Regions from separate parts of the Homo sapiens genome. Here region 2 is linked to region 1. The links are contacts of gene promoters, found by promoter capture Hi-C in human tissues and cell types (Jung and others, 2019). All regions are on one chromosome and are shown on one strand. The core of a region is centred on a gene start or on the middle of the fragment in contact, and the rest is flanking DNA. Distances in the headings are between cores, read along the strand shown.

What was found. Contacts are between HindIII fragments. The study calls those that stand out against the background at their distance.
Region 2: a contact is called between a fragment that was not itself captured here and the fragment with the promoter of RNF32 in region 1, in 1 of the 25 tissues and cell types used here (adrenal gland).

The regions. Positions count from the first base shown.
Region 1 is chr7:156,639,408-156,644,115 of GRCh38, forward strand. RNF32 (ring finger protein 32) reads left to right here and starts at 1,367. Exons shown (of 9, transcript NM_030936.4): 1 at 1,367-1,404; 2 at 4,394-4,485. The coding sequence starts at 4,471. RNF32-DT (RNF32 divergent transcript) reads right to left here and starts at 1,128. Exons shown (of 4, transcript NR_026865.2): 1 at 1-1,128. RefSeq lists an enhancer at 798-1,389 and a silencer at 958-1,267. The HindIII fragment of the contact is 17,064 bases long and covers 1-4,708 here.
Region 2 is chr7:156,793,447-156,797,887 of GRCh38, forward strand. LMBR1 (limb development membrane protein 1) reads right to left here. Exons shown (of 17, transcript NM_022458.4): 5 at 2,943-3,046. Among named protein-coding and RNA genes, the nearest start is that of LMBR1, 98 kb to the right of the region's middle. The HindIII fragment of the contact is 4,863 bases long and covers 1-3,748 here.

The DNA.
Region 1 (4,708 bases), core at 117-2,616:
AACCAACACAATAATTGTCATATTAAGAAAAGATAAAACAAACTTTACTCATTTCTGCTTCTGGGCATGGAGTGTGAGGGACCAGACTTAAGTTCTCAAACAACTACAAAATCAGACCAAAAAATACAATGGTTTCCAGGCACCGGACGACAGGCAGTGCAGGGCTGTGATCCTTAAGAGAAGGGAAGCAGCGAGCCAGAGTATCCAGGCCACAACCCAAATGGAGGCCAAGAGAGGAACAGCAGAGGATACAGAGGGAGGGTTCCAGGGGCCAAGACGCAATCCGAGGGGAAGCCCTTCCGGGGAGAGCTGGAGTCCTGGGGTGGCCTTCTCGAGTCTTCCCGAGCAGGTCTGTGCAGCGAGGAAACATCCGAGGCTGGAGTGAGCCACGCGGAGGAGGAAGAACAGCCCGAGCTCACAGGGGCGGGGAAGAGTTCTAGCTCGCGACAGCCCCTGGGAGGAACCCTGCACTATTTGTGGCGTCGAGTAAAGCACCGGAAGGCTCTGCTCAGGAGCGTGAACGACACCGCCCGCTGCAAGCCTGGAAAGGAACGCGTTGCCTCAATTCACTCCGATGTGTCACACACGCGGCTCAGTCACCTAGGGAGCAGGAAAAGGCCAGCGGGCCACGCAGGGCTCACCCGGGCCTGCATCCAAACGCAAACGGCCAGGCCCACGAAGCAGGAAACACAACCCGCAACGAGAAGCAAAGGGATCCACAGAGAAGGGCCAGGAGTCACGGACGACGCCAGGCAGTCGGCGCCTGCGCTTCCGCGAGCCAAGACGCCTGAGCGGCGCGGGGGGATCGGGGGATCCCCCAGAAAACTGCCCTCGACTAACAGCGCAGCGAAGGGGCGGTGCGCTCGAGACCCTGGAACGGGAACGACCACAGCCACCGCAGGGAAACAACCGGGGCCCAGGCCCAGGTGGGCGGGCGGCTGAGGAGCGTGGCTGCGCCCACAAAGCCGCCGGGGGCTGCGGACTACAGCGAAGCCGGCGCGGGGCTCGGCCCTCACTACACGAGGCCTGGGCGCCTGCACGCCCCCGTGCTTCAGCCCGCGGCTCCCGAACACCCCCGCCAGGCGATCCCCAAAAACGCCCGCTGCGCGAGCCTCGACGGGAACGCACCTGCGTCTAGACGCTGACGCCGTGCGCGGGGCGGGGGCCGGCGAGCATGCGCAGTGTGGTGTGGACAGGGCGTGGTTGGCAAGCATGCGCAATGTGGGCCGGGCGGGGCTGGCGAGCATGCGCAGTATGGGGCGGGGCGGGGCAGGGCTGGTGAGCAAGCCCGCGGGGAGCGAGCGCGGAGGCGGGCGTTGCTACGGCAACGGTGGGCGGCCAGGGAGTTGCCTGAGGGAAAAGGGGCAGACGTCCCTGGGTTCCGGTGTTCGCGGAGGAGTCGAGGCACGGAGAGGCTTCGGGGGAGGGACGGAAAGAAGGGTGGCCCGCCAGGCGGGCGGGGTCCATGGATTCGGGGTGAGGGCCGTCCGCGGCCTCGCTTTCGCCTCCTCCGAGCCGGGCCGGCGATGGCCGCAGCTGTGAGGCGAGGTCGGGTCCCGTAGCGGCGCGCAGCCTCCTTGGGGGACTCGGGGTCCTGGTTAGTTTCCACAGCTCCTTCTATCTGAGGGGTACGAATTTACGGCTGCCTAAAGCCTTAGAACAGTGATCCCACGTCGGTAATTTTAGAACCCGGTAGGACCGGCTGCCATCAGGGGCCCCAGGTGCAGGGTGGTGTCAGCTTTGAGAGGAATTGGAGCCTCGTCACCGCGCGCTTCCTGCATGAGTGGAACCTCAGAAAACGGTCAGCGGGGTTCAGAAGGCAGGAGATAACACCAAGACCCTACGTAGGATTGCATCTTTACGTCGTAGGCTTGGTCTCGTGTATTTTTATTGAGCGTGTTTAATTAGCTGAGGTTACTCGCTTTGGCACCCCAGTGATCGTTTTTGCCACCAAGCTCTGCCTCTTGAGCGTTTAATACTGGGATTTACAAAGCAACGGGTTCCTGTTAATCTTAGCTTTCAATACTGGGCAAGGGTTACGTTTCTAACCCTACCAGTGCCGCAGGCTCATTATATATTGAAGGACTCACCTGGTATTTGGTTTTCTCATTTATAAAGTGGAGTTGGAGTAGGTACTTGAAGGGTTTTCAATACCTTTAAATTCTGAATTTTAAACTCTAAAACTTAATGATACCGTAGGACTTTAAGAGAGTATAGGTTTTAAAAGCTCTTACCTTGATATTAATGACAGTGGTCTACTGTGTAGAAACTTGAGATTAAATTGCAGACTGCAGCTATGACCGGACCATTTTTAGTGTGATGCAAACTGTATCTTCTGCAGGTTATAGGCATTTTGGAAGCAGGAACTGAGAAAATTCTGGCAGTGATCTTTCAGTATTTTAAATTCCACCATTTCTCCAAGTTCAGTTGTCTTGATGAGATACAGGGTGGAACTTATTTCAAACATCTCTTGATGCCAGAATTGAACGGGAACAGAAAAGGGCTGTAGTAAGAACCATCATCAAAGCCTCCAGGACTTGAGCAGCGACTGACGTTTTTACTTCTAACCCTGGATATCTCAGAGATTTGGTTCCACTGTGCTTTTCTATCTCTCCACTCACGCCTTAGTGAGTTTGTTCTTTCGGTTGGAGTAATTTAATACAAGTGTTAGTCCTTAGAAATACATTTTGGATTAATTTCTTTCTATTTTTAGAGTTAGGCCCTCAACACAGTAAGTCTTCACTTAACATCATCCATAGGTTCTTAGAAACTGGAGCTTTAAGCCATGCAGTGTACAAGGAAACCAGTTTCACCATAGGTTAATTGATATAAATAAGAGGAAAGTTCCCACAGCACATTCCTGGTCACAAAAACATCGCCAAACTTCTAAATAAAGACCAAAGCACTTCTAATATGAAACACTGAAGTACATATGAGCTCTACATTTAAGAAATATCATTACCCAATTTCTGGTGAATCCATGAGTGACCGGGTTGTGGAGGGGCTGTGTTAAAGATAATGTTGGCCAAGCCAAAGCTCTGAAGCACCTCCCCCTACCATGCAGTTTCAAAACAAACAGGAGCCACTTCTCAGCCCGCTGGGCCTTTCTTACTGCATCGGGTATTGTCCTGCATCTCTGTGTGAATACCGTATGCTTTACGAGTTTTTATTTGACAATAATTTGTATCCTTTCATTTTCCAACCTGCTTATTCCAGTTCAGGGTGGCAGGGGGCTGAGCCCATCCAGGCAGCTCAGGACCAAGGCGGGCAACAGTCCTGGAGAGGACGGCATCCCATGGCAGGGCACACTCACACTCACTCAGACGGGGACGCCCCAGTGAGCCTCACGTGCACAGCTTTGGGATGTGGGAGGAACCCGGGGTACCTGGAGGAAACCCACAGCACATGGGGAGGACGTGCAAACTCCAAACAGACAGTGGCCCCTGCTGGGGATCAATTTTTTTTCTCATCAGCGTTATAGGGAAACAACATTAGAAGAAATATGTTCAAGGGCCTTCTGTGCCAGTTCCTAGATTACTTGAATAACTTTCTATTTCTCCTCATCACAGTATATTTTGAATACATCTGTCTTCATAAAATACACCATGTCCAAAATCTAAAAGGGCCAATTCCAAATTATTCCACCAGCTTTGAAGGGAATTGAAGCAAGAATAACAAGAGTAAGTTCTGTGTGAAAAGACCTACTTTAGATACTTCAAAGGTTGTCTCATTAATCCTTGCGGCAACCCTGCAAAGCCAGCGTTATTATACCTGCTTTATAGATGAGGAGCCTGGGGCTCAGCTGTGTCCAGTATCTTGCGCAGCAAAGCGGTAGAGTTCAATTGGAACTCAAGTTGGTCTGTCCCCATATTCTGTACTTCTGTGTTCTGGACAGACTGAAGTTAGCCAGTGTTCCTCTTGCGTTCCAGTTTCTTCATTGTTCCCTTTCTCCCCAAAATAAGCATATCATGCTGATTTCCAGCCTGCCAGTTCTTTCCTCCTACCTGTAATGTGCCATCTTCATTTCCCTCTGTGTATCTTTCAAATGCCAGTTTAACTGGTTTTTCCAAGTCTCCAGTGTTAGCCTGAAGTTTTGTAGTACTTATGTATCATGTTATATTTAGCAATGGATTAATTCATAGTAATTAACCATTTGTATTAATGTGTCCTCAGGAGCTCAGGGGTGAACTATTTGAGGACAGGGATGAGTCGAAGCATAACTGACTTGAGTTCACCCCCTTCCTCCAGAACCAGAATGTGTAGCTTAGTGCCACCCTGTAGCAGGCATTCCTGCTGCTTCAGGATCTGTTAGACTCTTACAGAGCATCCTCACAAACTTCATGGTTTTTCTGTGCACTGTAACTTTGACTTTCTGTTGACCACGTCTTTGCAGCAGAAGAATAGAAGGAAGGTGATAGGATGTGATGATAGAATTTGTGATAGCCAAGCAACAACTTTTCCTAATTCGGCATGTTAAAAAATAAGGTACGCTATTCTTTTCTTAAACATACACGTTATTTGACTCATGAAATGTATTTTAATTCAGCCATTTGAGAGTATAAAAACTAGTTTGCAAACCCTGCTTGAACTAGGAATTGTCAGCAGGAATGGGCGATGCCAAGTGTCGCATGGGGCAGTGGACAAGCCAATGGAAAAACAATCTCTGGCGATATTTACTGCAAGCATCTCTTAGCTGTTTGGTGATTTT
Region 2 (4,441 bases), core at 67-2,566, 150 kb after region 1:
TAGAACACACCTTATCTTCAAACAAGTTTGTTTCAAAGTATGCTAGCTGTAATGCTCAAGCTGAGTTATTCTACTTCAGTACATGCCATTGCAAAATGGGAAACATATTTTAAAACCGCCTGAGATAATAATCTGTGAGGAATTAAAAGATGACTGTACTGTATTCAGTTGCTTGCTTTCTGAGGCTCATATTTTATAGAATATTTAGTGATAATAAGTATTCTAGAAAACTTATTAGTGATTAGTGATATTTTATAGAATACTTATTAGTCAAATGCATTTAAAGACTACCTCGAAGATAAAGGTAATTTAATAATAGCTAATTTACTAAATGAAGTCCTGGGCTATGTGCATTACATGAATAATCACATCTCATTTAATCACCAAAATGATACAATAAAGTAAAGATCATTATTACACCCATTTTATAGAAAGCAACCCCGCGGTTTAGATGAAGTCACCTCCCAGGCAGTCTGACTGATGCCAAATTTTCTCACGGTTGCAGCTTCACCATCTTCCGCTGGCCTCTTTCCCTACCTTCAAGCTAGAATCCCATCTCCCTCCTTCCTTTAACGGCATTAACAACCAAATTCTTTAATTTGGTTTTCTGCAGCACCTATTACAACTTCCCAAGTTGGACAAATGGCAGTCGTCCGGGGCTCCACCTTCTGCTGTGTTTGGGAATTAATTGGATTCATAGTTGCCTGTATCCTACAGTCATTCAATATTTCAGTCCCATTTGAGGTCAAGAAACACAGCTGGTGACCCTCGAGTGATTTTTAGGCAACTAACATGGTCAAAGATGTGCTAAGAAAAGAATATTAATCATGTATAAAAAGACTAAAAATTTTTTTAAAATAGAGGAAGTAAGTGCTGTACAATCGTATGTGTGAAATATCTCTAATTAACTTCTATGATCCCTCCTCAGCTGATTCTCCCTTTGACCTTAAGTCTGTAAGGGGGAACAGGAGAAAAATGACATGTCACTGGGATTTTTTGTCATTTTTTTCTTTTTTAATTCTGGAGATTGTTGCTAATTCTTCAAACAGATTTAGCCAAGTCCCTTTCCTAGTTGGTTAATTCACAAGAAGGGAAGAAAATAACTTGGAGGCAAAGAGTTTGTCCATATTACACCCTGTTATTGTAAATAACAATCTATTCAACTAGATTGTTATAAAAAGTATAAATTAGGTAGATACTGTTTATAATGTCAAATATGAAAATATAGTTCACACCAAGCTTTATCATTTGTTTTTTGTATGTGGTACTATTACACAAGAGGTAGTGTCAGGAAGAGGGAAGAACTTTGCTTATTGAAAGCAAACGTCGGCAGGCAATGTCACAGAGTCAGGTGCAGGACTGATTCGGTGCCGTGTCTACAGATCAGTGTTCTGCACTGTGTGGGGCATGTACTCCTTTGTACTCCTTTCCTTTGTGACCTGCACAAAGTCTAAAATGCATATTTATCTCTAAATATACTCAAGTGGTAGATGAAAAAAAATTATTTTCAAAAATCCTATTCTGGCTTCTCTGTTGCCTACAACATAAAACTCAAATGACCAGATGGAGGACTCCAGGCCTCCAGAATTCGACCCTGGCAAGCGGCTTGTGCACCCTCATCTCTCACCATTCTCCAGTATCTAAGTACCGGCCATTCCCTCAATACTGTCAGAGCTCTAGGCCTTTGCTCAAGCCTGGAATGCCACACTCTAGCAAACCCCTGCTCATCCTTCAAGTCCCAGCCCAAGTCCAGATTGACTTCCCCTGTGAAGCCTGCTCAGATTCCCCAGGAAAATCAAGATATCCTTTCCTTTCAGGGTTTCCCATAGGACTTCATTATATAAAAGGGCTTCAAACTGCATCTTATTTGTTTACATCTGTCATTTCTCCCACTGTCCGACCCTTGAAGGCCAGAGGCCCATCTTTTCATCTGTGTCCCCAGCAAGCTCCTATAAAGAGCATAATAACTGCTACTTAAGGAATTGGTTAATAAAACTGAATTCTCAATAAAATTCATTCTCTGTTGAATGAATGAATATCCATCAAAAGTTATGTTTCCAAAATTCTACAGAAATTGCCTTCTCAAGAGTCTACAATGACCTCCTTTCTTCTTGTTGTTTATTCTTGGTTTTTGTTTGTTTCTGAGACAGGCTGGAGTGCAGTGACGCAATCACAGCTCACACCACAGCTTCAACCTGCAGGCTCAAGCAATCCTCCCACCTTAGTCTCCAGAGGGGCTGGGACCACAGGTACCCATCGCCACACCCAGTTAATTTTTTTATTTTTAGTACAGACAGGGTCTCACTGTGTTGCCCAAACTGGTCTCGAAAAACTGGCCTCAAGCAACCCTCCTGCCGCAGCCTCCCAAAGTGGTGGATTACAGGTGTGAGCCACTGCACCCGGCCATTGACTAAATTTTAATTGCCTGTCTTAAGAATACATCATGATTTTTTAAATTCCAATGCATAAAAGCCAGTTTTCTTAATGTCAGGTTTGACTGCCAGAGTCATTCATTCTGATCCTGGTATATTTACTAAATGTGAAATCAGCTGTCAGTTTTCAGCTGCAGACTGTTAACGTATGGAATAACAGCTAGATAACAGAAAGGGGAGCCCATGGAAATAACACTTTACTGTCACCTTAAACTAAATAAGATACCCTAAGGAAAGAATAAAAGCTATTATATCAGGTTTATCCATTACACTAGATGTATGCATACTGTAAAAGTACTCACAGGTCTAAAAGATGTCTCTCTCTCATGGACATGCAAAGTAATTCAATATGCAGAATTACTGTTATTGTTAACAATGTGTTATCAATATTATTTACTACGCATTTTTTATATTCCATTTAAATAATTTAAGTCTGCTTTTTCTAGTTCAATGTGAATGATATTTAATTCCTCACTTAACCAATTTAATTCCAATACTAGATTCACTTACCTTTTTCAGGCCAGCAAAGCCTTCTGATTCCAGAAAGAAAAAGGCAAAGGGCATCAATACAAATAAACAAAGGTTGGAAAAAAGGGAAGCAAGATTCCACAAACCTATAAAAAGGGTAACAAGAAAAGAAGAAAAACAGGTTAGATATTGAAATTGTGGTATTAATCAAGATCTATACTTTTAAATAGTAAAAATAAACAAAAAGTAACAAATGACCTAAACTTAGAAATCATAAAATAATTATAGTATGTATTTATTTAAATTTTTTTAACATTGTAACTTGTACCTATTGGGAAAAGTCAGTATAGAAACTAATGTTTTTTTCCATGCCCTAAAGTAAATTCACTAAAAATATGACGTGTGCAGAGATCCAAAGGCACAGCCTCTTTAGACATATAGGCACCGGAATATTTAAATTAGAGCCACTAGCATTTATTGAGCCCCTAATAAATGCCAGATACTCTACTGAACATTTTACATGCATAATCCCATTTAATTTAAGCCTCATAAAAACCCTAAAAATAATAATTAGCATTTATTGAGCCCTTATGTGCCAAGCACTATTCTAAGTGATTTACAGACATTATCCGAACTCATTTACTTGCCACAGCAATCCCATGAGGCAGGTAGCATTACTGCCCCAAGATGACAGAAGAGGAGCAGGCTATGCAACTTGCCACAGCTGTAGAGCATCCAAGTGGCAGAGCTGACTTAATTCCAGGATTTTAAAAAATCACTACATCACAGAAATTTTGGTAAACAATTCCAAGTGGGAAAGAAAAAGTCACAGAGACTGGCAATCTTAAGTGACCTTTTCCTCCCTGGCACAAAATGGCAAGTAAAATAAGAACAGATTTAGCAAAAGACAGAGCCCTGTTAGGTATGTCATTGGGAGGGTATTTGGCCCAACATGTCAGATCATATTTTTTACAGGTAAAAAAATAAAATTTAAAACTGAGTTTCAAAATGATGGTGATAATCATTACAAAAGTTTATAAAATCAAGAGTCAAAGATAAAATTTACGTCAAGGATAAATTCAATGAACTGTTTGCCATTATAATTCAATGTTTTTGAAAGTAGGCAACTAATGCTTTCTCAACACCTTCATTTCCAAGCAGTGGAGATGTGGTGATGAAGAAACACAACCCCTCTGCTCTCAGAGCTGCTCACGCTGCAGAGCTGCATGCAGAGACTACCTCTGAGCTGGCAGTGGGCACAGGGAGCAGAGCCGTCCCTAACTACTGCAGTTTTGAATAAACATAAAGGTTTGTAACTGTCCTAATGTCCTTTGGAATAGCATGGAGTATAAACAAACACAATTAATTTAGCAATTAATACGGGTCAGCTGGGGAGATTCACTTCCTTTAGTAGACAAGGTAATATAATAAAATCAACTCACAGTTTCTTATTCAAAAATCTACATGGATTTAACAAATTTACAATGTACATTTATCTTTGTAGAAAGTAAAATCTTTTATAAAACAATATCTTAACATCT